Linked DNA regions of Homo sapiens: regions 1, 3 and 4 are each linked to region 2. Evidence: promoter capture Hi-C in human tissues and cell types (Jung and others, 2019). All regions are on one chromosome and are shown on one strand. Each heading gives the region's core, a stretch centred on a gene start or on the middle of the fragment in contact. The rest is flanking DNA. Distances are from core to core; before and after follow the strand shown. Region 1 overlaps PTPRQ (protein tyrosine phosphatase receptor type Q). Region 2 holds the start of LIN7A (lin-7 cell polarity scaffold A). Region 3 overlaps ACSS3 (acyl-CoA synthetase short chain family member 3). Region 4 overlaps PTPRQ (protein tyrosine phosphatase receptor type Q).

Evidence for each region. The method cuts DNA at HindIII sites, captures the fragments that hold promoters and counts their contacts. A contact is called where the count stands out against the background at its distance.
Region 1: a contact is called between a fragment that was not itself captured here and the fragment with the promoter of LIN7A in region 2, in 1 of the 25 tissues and cell types used here (lymphoblastoid cells).
Region 3: a fragment that was not itself captured here is called in contact with the fragment with the promoter of LIN7A in region 2 in 2 of the 25 tissues and cell types used here (dorsolateral prefrontal cortex and hippocampus).
Region 4: a contact is called between a fragment that was not itself captured here and the fragment with the promoter of LIN7A in region 2, in 1 of the 25 tissues and cell types used here (lymphoblastoid cells).

Annotation. Positions count from the first base shown.
Region 1 is chr12:80,484,094-80,487,126 of GRCh38, forward strand. It overlaps PTPRQ (protein tyrosine phosphatase receptor type Q), which reads left to right. Exons shown (of 45, transcript NM_001145026.2): 9 at 340-512. Among named protein-coding and RNA genes, the nearest start is that of PTPRQ, 41 kb to the left of the region's middle. The HindIII fragment of the contact is 4,311 bases long and covers 1-3,033 here.
Region 2 is chr12:80,936,420-80,939,326 of GRCh38, forward strand. It overlaps LIN7A (lin-7 cell polarity scaffold A), which reads right to left and starts at 1,515. Exons shown (of 6, transcript NM_004664.4): 1 at 1,222-1,515. The coding sequence starts at 1,303. RefSeq lists a silencer at 643-852. The HindIII fragment of the contact is 2,607 bases long and covers 1-2,351 here.
Region 3 is chr12:81,258,286-81,261,223 of GRCh38, forward strand. ACSS3 (acyl-CoA synthetase short chain family member 3) reads left to right here. Exons shown (of 16, transcript NM_024560.4): 16 at 1-2,925. It overlaps PPFIA2 (PPFI scaffold protein A2), which reads right to left. Exons shown (of 33, transcript NM_003625.5): 33 at 1-1,375. Among named protein-coding and RNA genes, the nearest start is that of PPFIA2-AS1, 19 kb to the right of the region's middle. The HindIII fragment of the contact is 4,905 bases long and covers 1-2,938 here.
Region 4 is chr12:80,633,245-80,636,375 of GRCh38, forward strand. PTPRQ (protein tyrosine phosphatase receptor type Q) reads left to right here. Exons shown (of 45, transcript NM_001145026.2): 35 at 1,701-1,829. All of the region lies in intron 1 of LOC105369867 (a long non-coding RNA gene), which reads right to left. Among named protein-coding and RNA genes, the nearest start is that of MYF6, 73 kb to the right of the region's middle. The HindIII fragment of the contact is 5,580 bases long and covers 1-3,131 here.

The DNA.
Region 1 (3,033 bases), core at 261-2,760, 450 kb before region 2:
CTCTTGGGTTCAAGCAATTCTCCTGCCTCAGCCTCCTGAGTAGCTGGGATTACAGGCACGCACCACCATGCCTGGCTTATTTTTGTATTTTTTAGTAGAGATGGGGTTTCACCATGTTGGTCAGGCTGGTCTCGAACTCCTTACCTCAGGTGATTGGCCTCCCTTGGCCTCCCAAAGTGCTGGGATTACAGCCATGAGCCACCGCACCTAGCCTAGTCTGTTTTCTAATAGAATTGTTTATATATCTTAAATTGTGAACTAAGAATTTAGGCACTTTTTTCACTTGAAAAAATATTTTTAATTTCCCCCTTTTCTTTTCTTTCTTTCTTTCTTTCTTAGTTCCAGGGGCAGTGTTTGATTTACAACTTGCAGAGGTAGAATCCACGCAAGTAAGAATTACTTGGAAGAAACCACGACAACCAAATGGAATTATTAACCAATACCGAGTGAAAGTGCTAGTTCCAGAGACAGGAATAATTTTGGAAAATACTTTGCTCACTGGAAATAATGAGGTATTGCATTTTTATTTCACTTATTGGTGAACCCTTTCTGCTTGGTTCTGGCTCTGATAGCTTGGAAGATTTGCTAGCACCCACACATGTAATATTTGACCACTTACTAGTACAAAGTAAAGTAAATTTGGGGCATGTTGATAATCTAGCTAGATCATATTTCATTTTAGGTTATATATTATTAGTTAAGTGCTATTATTCCTTTTCATCATATGAAAAATGTTAATTGTGCAATTAAACAGGACTAAAGGTATTTTCATAAGTTAATATTATTTTTCTAAATTAGTTAATGAATTGTTCGGAAACTCTTGTTATGATTTAAGTGCTCCTTCAAAGGCTGTGCTTGCAATTTGGAACAGTTGCCAGTGAAAGGCACAGTAACTTTAGTAGCTGTTGTTGACAAATGATTCTGTTCTATTTGGTCTTGGGAAGCTAAATTTCTCAAAGCTGCCTCTTTTTTTTTTTCAAAGTACATTTGATTAAGAGTCACATTACTAAATAAAAGAAATTTAAGTCGTTTCATAGATTTTAAATAAGAGGACCAGGATCTTTAGGCAATGTGTTTGCTTCTATTCACACTGGAAGTCTTATTTTTTTCCTTTTGTTTCTGTTAGGAAGTACAGGCAACACTGATTTTTCTTTCCACTGTCTTTGTTCACCTCACTTCATCAACTGTTCACCTGTGAGACTCTTTCAGCCTCCAGGCTAGTCATGTCCAGATACTGGCTGCTCCCCGGGGCATTCAAAGAATAAACTTCCTTAGGACCAGTGCAGCAATCACTGGGCCTTAAAGACAAACACGATAGTTATTCAGCACCTGGCGTCTGCTGTGTTGTTTCAGAATTGCTGCTGCTTCTACCTGTGCTGTTATTTTCCCCCACACATGCTTTCATTCTATTTCTAGTCCCAGCCTTCCTCTATTTCTGGCACTTACCTGTATGTGACAGTTGACCTCACCATGTGCTCAATGCATTCTGGCCACCCAGGACTTATCACTCCAAGTTGCTCACCATCTTCAACCCAGGGTTAAATTTTAATCCTATGTTGATTCCTTTCCTCTGTGCAAAAGATGTTGAATTATGCTTTCTGTGATACTCTGGTTGACAACTCAGGCAAAGGGCAAAAGCTTAACCCTTTGCTCCTGCTGAGAAGGTCTTAAATTAGATACTGAGCTTTCCTAGTACTAGATGACAGGTTTCCCACTTCTGCTAATGACATCTGTTGAATGGGTGGCCACACCTGTTTTTCCATGAAGCTAAGAGGTTCTAGAAAGGCTTTTTTTTTGTGATTCTGTCTCTATCTGGTCTGCAATTCTCGTCTCATAGTAGAGAGCTCATGAGCTTTGGAGACGTACAAATTTGGATTTAAATTATGATTTTGTCTCTCACTGTGCTATATAGCAAGTGGTTAAGACTGTAAACCAGGTTTAAACTCTAGTTCTGCCATTACTAACTGTTTAACCCTGGAAAAGTTGGCCTGAGCTCTCTGAACATCAGTTTCTTCTTCTCTAAGATAGTGATTATAAGTCCCTATAACAAAGGGTTAATAATGAGAATTTAATGGGTTCATGTGTGTAAAGAGCTTAGAACTGTACCTGGCATATAGTAAGTGCTGTGCTAAATAATTGTGACCTATTGTGATCATTAATCTTGGCATAGGATCATCCACCTTAGTTGCTACCCAATATTACTTCCCTTATACTCTCTCAATGAAAGGAGACATTATGCTTCTCTTTACTTCTCTGATTATATCTTTCTTTATTAGATCAGACTCATTTCTGATATTTCTGCTTCCCCATGTAGCTGGTGTTTGGGTTTACCTTTCAGGAGATTGATGTGGGGAGACAGATATGACAGAAGCTTTAAATCCAAATGGCCCTGGGTTCTTGGCCTGACTCTGCCGTGTTCTAGGTCTATGACCTTAGAAAAATCAACTTTTGGAGACTTGGTGCCTTCATTTATATAATGGGGCTTATATAGCCACCTTACAGGGTTGGGAGTAAATGACATAAGAAATACAACTTGTGGCTTAGTGTGTTCTTCATTTGTTTTTCCTTTCTTTGACCTTGGTACCTCTCTCAGGATGAGGACTCTCTTCCCATTTCTATTGATCTTCTGAAAAAGTAGCCTCATTCCCCAACTCAAGAACTCTTTAAATGCTTGAAATCTTATTAGAAGTCACCAGTGACCTCCCCAGTGTGCAACACAAGAATTAAATATTTTTAACCACCCTTGTGTTCTTATCTCCTTCAAAATCCATCCCTCTGTCCCCCCACTTTTCAGCTTTTGAAACTATTTGTTCCTTAATACTTTCTGCAATTTTATGTACTGTGACATTGCAATTCTTTGGCCTTGCACAATTAAAAATGAAAGTTCAAAAAGCTAACTCTCTCTATTTTCTAACTTTTTAGTGAAGATGTTCCACAGAGCTTTGGTTTCAGCCATCTCATAACATTTTCTTTTGAAGACCTAACAGTTTCAATCACTGCTTCCTATTTGTCTGACTCTTTTGCCTTACTTTC
Region 2 (2,907 bases), core at 265-2,764:
GTACTCTCAGCAGGATGTTCTTTTGCCTTGCCCATCGTTCAGTTTAATCCTCTAGAAAGAAAATTTTTAGAGGTACATCGGACTAAATCATTTTCTTCTGAGTACACCATTTCCAAATGGCCGCCCAGGGTCCTAAATCCGGCGGCTGCGGAGAGGGACTAGAGGGTGTCCTCCTCTGCAGAGCCGTAGGACTCGAGCGCCTTCATCACTGGACGCTGGAGCCAGGAAGGAAACCCACACACTCAGGGACAGGTATAACCCCACAGGGGTGCACCAGTGAGGCCCCGATCGCAGCGGAGGACTCCATCCCTGAGCTTGTGAGGGCGTCCTGGGGAGGAAGCGAACACTTTCCCCGTTCAAGTCAGAGAGCAGGACTCACTGGGTGGCAGGTCAGAAGTTGAATTTTAACCCGACCTGCGCTTTGTCCCCGCGCCTTCCGCAGCCTGGGCGCCGCGGTGGCACCGAGCTGGGAGAGGACACGAGAGGCTGGCGCGGGAGAAGCCGAGAGTTGCTATCGACCGGGAGCTGCCGGCGGCGGGAGCAGACGCGACCCTCGCCGCTTTCGATCTCGAAGCCGCGGAGAGCCGATCTCGGCTGCTGGGGCTCGGCTCCCCGCGCTCTGCCTTGCCCTTTCGGCAGAGGGCAGCTCCCTGCCTGCTGCAGCCCCGCCACTGTGCGCCCGGCAGCCCAGGGGTGCGCCCAGCCCGCCCCCCGAGTGGCCGCCGGGACTCCAGCAGTTGGACCGACCCTCGCCCTCCGGCGCCTGGACAAACTTCCTTCCTCCCGGGCCCCTGCGCCAAGCAAGCTGACAGGCGGCTCCCTCGCCGGTCTCCTCTGGGCTCTGGCCGGGCGAGCTTGCTCTCTGCCCCTCTCCAACCCCGAGCCCCTGGCGCCTATAGCCGTCCCCGCGCAGCGGCTCCAACAAAGCCAGAGGACCGGAGACGACCCGGCGAGGGGCTGGGAGTGGCAGCGGGGACCCCAGAGCCAGAAGGAGGCGTCCCCTCGGCGGGGCGAGTACAGTGGGAAGGGGCAGCGGGAACGTAGCGGGGAGAGAAAGGGGAAGAAAGTGTTCTGTTCTCGGCGCGAACGCCTTCCTGGCTCGTCCTCGTTCCCCTTCTCCTCCTGCCTGAGCGCGTCCCATGTCCCGTTGGGAATTGGCAGGCGGGGAAGGGAGGAGGGGAGAGGGGACGCGGTGGCCTGGCGAGCGAGCCGCTCCCTTACCTCTGTCCAGGGTGAGCGGCTGGACCACTGTCAATGTCGCCATGTCTGCCGTGGGAGCCGAAGTGACGCTCGGCTTCAGCATCAGCAACCGCTCGTAGTGAGAAAAAAAGGAGGAGATTGGGGGCGGGGGTGGAGAGGGAAGACGGAAAGGAGGGGGAGGAGGGGGAAGGAAGGAAGGTGGTGGTGGTGGAGAAGAAAGCTTGGGTGGGTTGGTAGCCAGATGGAGACGCAACTGTTCCGCGGCGGCAGATCTTCAGTTGCGGTGCGGAGCTGAGCAGGTATCCGAGAGCGACTGCATCGCCGGGCTCTGGGAGGGAAGGCTCTGCCCTAGAACTTTGCTATTCCACCCCCAGGAGCGCTGGGTGGGTGTAGCTGGCGGGTTGCTTCCTTTCAACTTTCCACTCTAATAAAATGGTCAGAATATACGTGTGTGCATGCGGGTGCGTGTGTGTATAAGGGGAAGAGAGAGGATGGAAAGGGGATATGGGGAAGGGAGTGGGAGATGAGTTTTCTCAGATTAAGAGAAATTGCCAATCCAATAATCCCATCCCCTTTAGAGAGAAAATGCTTCCATTATCAGAAATGTTTGGGATGTAATTACATTTGCAGTTAATTTCTGTTGAAGTTTTTCGGAATGTTGACCTATAACGGCATATAAAGATAACTGACTAAAGGCCAGCGTTCCATCAGTAGATGTTCATTTAGGACCTGAGTATATTGCCTGGAGAAAAAAAAAAAAAAAGGCAAACCTCTTAAAAGTGCTTCAAAATAAAAAACGTGTAGGTAAGTTTCTATCGCTAAGTTTTTCTTTTTCAAGCCACTGTTAATACATTACCAATTCAGTAAATGTAGCTTAGAAACAAGTACAGTGTTCAGATTTTCTCCGAATTTTTTACATACCACATCCTGTAAACATGCCCCACTCCCCCTCACCCACCCAGCAACAAAAACTTTGCTCTTAATGTCCAAACTGATTTTGGTTGTCTATGACTACGTTTGAAAAATATGTACCTAGCACTTTTCATGTTGATTTCTAACCAGTGGTTCAGAGATGCCACTTATCGATTGATTAACATATATGCCAGGAATTGAGATAGAAGAGTTACATTGCCTTGTGCCACGCCTTGATTTAGGAGTTCAATTTAGTCTCCGACTTCCTGTAGCCTGTAATCTAGTGGGAGATGGTGTTATTAAAAACCTGACTTTAGAGTCAGTTGATCAGGATTAAATTACGAGAGCCTTCAAATACTGGCTGTGACCTCTTCGCCCCAATAAAAAGGCTACTTTCACTATCTTGTCATAGTAGGGATTCATTTCCTGACTACGAAATCAAGAAACATAAAGAAACCTTCTATAAGCTGAATAGGGGTGACTGTGGGTGCAGGATTGGAAATGACAAAGCTGCCTCCATCTTGTTTCCTGTGACAGAGCTGAATTGTTTGGGCTAACAATAAACTCTAAAAGGCAGATACTGTTTTATAGCAAAATATTTGCATATAATTGATGCCATTTTCTTCTGATTACAGATAGGATTTCTGAAGGTCTTTTTCATTTTATAGTCTACAATTGAATTTTAAAAAACAACATTTCACCAATGTGGGAAAGCCAAAGATGATTGGCCATATATAGACTTAACAGACCCTAAGAACAAACCTAAAATAGTAGTTCGATATGTTTATTTTTATT
Region 3 (2,938 bases), core at 241-2,740, 320 kb after region 2:
TTGACAATGGAAAGGGTTTCTGTTATCATTACCTTTTGACTGAATCTGTTAAATAAAAATAGACATCAAAACAAATGTAATGTACGTGCAAACATAGCAAATTAAAATACAGAAAAGAAATTACTAATGACAGGTCTTGCGCTTAATAAGATCAAGCAGCAGAAAATCAGCAGTTAGATAAATGGTATTATTAAATAGGCTTTACTTTGAATCTCCCATATAAACAAAGAATAAACAACAGTAACACCACCAAATAAAGCCACAGGGAAGAGATTACTCTTCTATACTTTTATACACTATATATGTTAATCATTCTGTCTTTCATTTATTTCCTCTGATAAAACTGACTTCAGGGAAGTCGCAACAAGGCCATCTCGGCTAAAAGCTTATAACATTAGACATGAGTCTGGCTAATGCCCTGTTACATTGACAAAAGGGAAAGGTATCTTGGGTTTCGTTTTCTCTAGTGGAAATGAGCCTCAGACTCTGCGGTGGTTGACATTCACTGTCCAGTACTGGCTGGCATTTCAAGATATTTGAATGAACATGTGGTTCTTAGTAAAGAAGTTTTTTTATCTTTTTTTTTTTCTTGGTCCACAGGTAACAAGAGAAGATTATGGTTTTTTAATATAAATTTTTAAATAATTGCTTTTGACCCTTGTAAACAGCTTGGCTTTGTTTTGTATTGAAAAGGAGATCAAGCCATCACAGTGCTATTTCTAAAGATATAGGACATCCCTGATTGCCTTTAAAGCTCTATTTTTGGCTCCGGTTCCAGGTTAAATCATTCTTTTTTACATGATCAGAGGCAGGTTGTTCAGCTTTAAGTATTGACAGACTTGAAGGAGAAACACGTTGAAGCATGAAACATGCTTCAAGGAAACATATTGATTTGACTATTAACAATCCAAAAACTGTAAAAATGGTGGAATGGTAAAATACAAACAGTACTTGGAATTGTCAAATGTTTGCACTCGAGACTCCATGAACCATATATTTTATTTTTTAAAAAATCATATTTATATCCATTTACATAAGACTTACACATTTAAAAAGAAATGCACGGTAATACATAAATGCCTAGTATATTACAATAAAACATGAAAAACAACTGGCTTCATTTCATAAAAGCATCTGTTGTACAGAGTTTATGATGTAGATGATGTTTATTATTCAAATGACTTAAGCATTTTATTACAATTTGTAGTAAACTAATCAAATGTAATATCTGACTCCCCCCAAAAATCACATTTTTCAGCTTTTAATAAGTCATGACGTCATTATTTCCTTAGAATTCAGTTTTCACAAAGGTTTTCACTGCTCGTCTTCTTAGATGGTAGTGCACTTTAGGTAGAGTAGACTGAAAAGACGCCATCTAAAATATACAATGGATAGCATTAGTTCACTGAAAAGTCCCAGACTGGGAAATCTCATTCTACTCCTCTGTGGTGTACCTCCACGCAGCCTGCTTACTCCTGTCCTAGAAGATCATGAGAAGGAAATCATCTAGGATGTAGCCAACAGCCGTATGTAATTAACATTTGCTTTTCTCCAATTTGGTGCAGGGGAGCTTAACAAATAATAGAATTTGCTCAACTTTGTGGAAAGTATGGCAGTAATGTAAACAAAGGTAGTTATGCAAAATGTTAGCATGCCTTCTGAAAAATTTACAACTTGCTAATTAATAAATTGGGTTGAATTGACCTATTTCATAATGTAGATTTATATTCTAGTTCATATATTTTAGAGTTCTTAAAAAATACCTTTATTTGTTACAAAAACATAACGATAATAAGTCACCTATTGTAAACGTTTGTGTCAGTAGTATGGCATTGCTGATTGTTTTCAGCCATAATGTACTTAGAAAAAGCTCACAATTGCTATTACTGACACAAAAGAAACAGCAAGTAGTATGCTCTGGATTATTTTAATATCAAAAGTGTTGTTGTTTCACCCAAACAAAAAATGGTTGTCCTAGATTGAATTATTGTAAATGAATACTGTTATCCCAATTAATGGTAAAAACTAGGAAATATGAACTAGAATGTCATGCACAAAAAACAGATTGCAAATAGAGTAACTCTACCCATCACTTAAGAGCTAAGAAGCAAGCACTATTGAACATATTAAATAGTCATTTGTAAATTAGTGAAGTGTTCATTTCCTGAAGAAATTATAATGCTATGTGTAGAATCTAATATAAACAGTATTTTGGGAGACCTCTTATTTAGCCAAATTATTATATACTTTAAATCATGTCTAATTAGGTGCCAAATTATATACCATAATTAAAATTTTAATGTAAGGGTTGTACATTCTGAAATTAAATCTCTTATCGGGATGCTTTTCATTTTATCAGCTTCAAATAGTGATCCAAATAAGGCAGCATATCTGCTCCCATCCTAAGCCCAAAAGACCAACAATAAATTGTGTGGCACTTTTAGTTCAAGGCAATGAAAACAGCACAAGGTGAGTTGTTCCTCTGTCTATAACTGTTTTCTCTTAACCCTGTGCACACATTTTGTTCTAAATATCGCTCTTAAAAAGTATTTTTCTAAAATATTGATTCATCGAAAGTGGTTAAATATTTTGGTAAAGCATAGTTTTAGGTTGAAAAAAAATTATGAACATTTGACATTTATAAATCTAAGAAACCACAGTTTTACTATTAAGACTGTTTTTCAATAAAACCTCATTTTTATATGGATTTTAAAGTAGCTTTCATTAATTGGTATTTCCTTAAAATCAAATGCTTGGTATTTATGGTTACATAGGAAGGTTTTGTGCTGGTCCTATTCTCCATTCTTAAAGTAATTTTATTTTGTTCCTATATGTCTTAAATACTTAAAATTTATATTTGTTTTTAGCAAGTGTAAATCAGATTGATAAGAAACAATGTAATAAAGGTTTGAATTTTTCACAGTTTCTACTATTTATT
Region 4 (3,131 bases), core at 85-2,584, 300 kb before region 2:
CTCAATCAGGTCTAAATATTAAAGTTTATACAGAAAGAGATCTTTTTTATAGTTAGAACAACACTTGTAAAATATCCAGCTTCCTTATATGGTAGACCCCCTTCTCATGCTTACTTTCTGAACATGTCTGTGCTGAATTTTCCAAGTGTATCTTTCCATTCTCAGCATCAGCATCCTACTTCCCTTATTATTTACAGGGCCTCGTTGGAAATCTTACTTCTGACCTCAAAATCTAGCTTCTTAAGGCAGATTGCCGAGTTAAAGGGACCTTACATTTGTAAAGTAAACTTTCTACCAATTTCCTAAATAGTTCAATAGACTATTTTTATTTCAACTGAAGAATGTAGTTCTGTATTCTAAATGCCATGCATTATGGTTCATCTTGACTCTCTTAAAGCATAATTTTAATAGATAATTTGAAAGGCTCTTGAAAAAGATATTTTCTCTATACCACATAACTATTTGCAGATTTAGCCAGAAGACAGTGAGAGAGTTATCATTCGAGGCACTTTGAATGCTATAATGTGTAAAATATGGGCCTTTCCCTAAGGAGTATGGACTGGCCACATTTATGTAATTTCCCTGCTCTAAAATCTTTTCTGACTTCTCATTTCTCTACAAGATGAACTCCTTGTGTGAGTAGGAAATGGTCCTCCTTATTCCCCACAACTTGCCTACTCACTAGCTAAAGAGATCTATTCTCACCTGAACATTCCTTGGGCTTTTATACATTCTGCTTTTGTTCAGTCACCCTGAAATGTGCTTCCTCCTCCTTCTCATCCTGGGACATCCAAGTCAAATTCTACTTCTTTACCTCCTCTAAATAATAATAACTATTTATGTAACTAATCAGGCACTGTCTTATGTGTTGTAATTTGAATCTTTTTTTCTCTTTTCATGTTTTTTCTGCATTGAAATCTTGCCTCTCAACTAAATTGTAATGTCTTTGAGGGTAGGGAACATGTTTTATACTTTCCATATCATCCTTGATGTCCAACTCTTAATAAATACTAAATATTTGAAATGTGAAAGATAGAATAGCTAAACATTACTTTGTAATATACCATACTGTGTCATGGAGAAATAAGCATTTAAAGGGTTTAAGATGAAAAGAATCTGATTTGATTCTCAGATTCATGTGGCTTTTATTTTTGAACCTAAGTTTTCTGATTGTAAAGATAATATCTACTCACAATATTTTTATAAAAATTCAATAAGATAATTTGAAAATAATTTTTAAGTATTTTCATGCATGTAAAAATATTTCATATATGTGAACACAATGGGGCATTATCTGTTAGCAATACTATTGATAGCATTGAACTATTTTCACTTTGGCATAGTTCCTTTATATGACAAATCAATGACATAGCTAGAGAGAAGAGAAACAAGATCACAACGTAAGTCTTCTTGGCTCTATATTTAAATGTACCAATGGCTCAGGCCTTCGTCAACTAATTCTTCTTAAATTTAGAACTTCATCCCAATAACTTATTAGAAAAAAAAGAAAGTAGAATAGGTTCTATGGAATTAAAACAAGAAAAAGAAGTCGAGTAGCTATAAATTTGCAACATATTCAGAGAGGTGATTTTAACAAGGAAATTATTTGACTAAATGTCTTTACTTAAAAAGAAAACTAAACCTAATTTTATATACTTTGTGTGAAACTCCCTTCTTGGACTTTACTCCGCTTGTTTTAGAATTCGACAGAAGCAGAAAGAAGGTGGCACATACTCTCCTCAGGATGCAGAAATTATTGACACTAAATTGAAGCTGGATCAGCTCATCACAGTGGCAGACCTGGAACTGAAGGACGAGAGATTAACGCGGTGAGCACACTCCTCTGGGTGAACTGTGGTCCAGAGGGCCTGGAGCCATGACCCTATTCTGACCTATGCTTGTTGGAAGTGTTTGTGGGGCTCTAATTTACACAGGTCACAGAGATCTTCTTTCAAAGAGTGACCTCCGTCTTCTACACACTTCTCACTGCTGTTCAGAGAATCACTTAATCTTCCTAATATTTTGAGTTAAATATGAACTTTGGACTATAATGTTCAATCAGGATTATTTTCCTGGGACAAATATTTTTCCACATTAAACCTTTGACATTATGTTTAATAATTCATTTCATATGATAGATTTTTACATTAAACTTTTCTGGAAGTGTCCACATTTTCAATCACAGGTTTAAATTAATTAAATTTATAACTACTTGATATTATTTATATCCATTTTTATAAAAGCTTTTTAATAACTATTTCAGTATAAAAGTACATAAAAGTCTAAGTTGTATATGATATCATTTTTACATTTCTTTGTATTTAAAAATTAAATATAAAGTAAAAAGTTACCTTCAGAGGGAAAAGTAAAAACATGTGTACTAAATATGTTTCATTGGTACCTATTGGAAATAGTAAAGTACATAATTTTAAAGAAAAAATAATTATAAATCCTTTTAAAAGCATTATCAATTATTCAAAATGTTGGCACATTATAAAAACTTGTCTATTAAGATAATTCATCAAATTCTTAATGAAAACTACCATCAGGCTATTTTAACGTTTGCATTTTTATAAGATTCAATAACATGTAATGCTTATAAGCACAAAGTAGTTGTTACCAAGTATTTGCTCAGCTCTGTTAAAATTAAAAAAATTATTATTAATTTTGAAAATATGGCATCAAATGTCTTGGACTCAAAAAGTTATTCATTTGTAGTTGTCACTTGTTAAAGTTGGTCTTTATCTAATAGATGGACTTTGCAAGTATATTTCCAGCATATCTAAAAATACCTAATATGTGCTATAGAGGGAAGTGTCATCTGATAAGCAAAGTCCTTCCAAATGCTACAAAATGAAGGTTATTCAATGTTATCACTAAATTGCAGGGAAATGTGTTTTCTTGGATATGACAGCTGACTTTTTAAACATTCAGATGTTGATCTTTGTGTTCTAATACAGTGGTCCTATCCACAAATGGATAGTACTCCAAAGATTTAAGTGTCAGATGATTGTAAGTTATCCAAGACATAGTTTTCTATATAAGAAATATTATGTACAAAATATCAAATATGTAAAAAGAATCAATAAAAGATTCCCAGGGTAACTCATCTAAGTAAAACCATATCATAG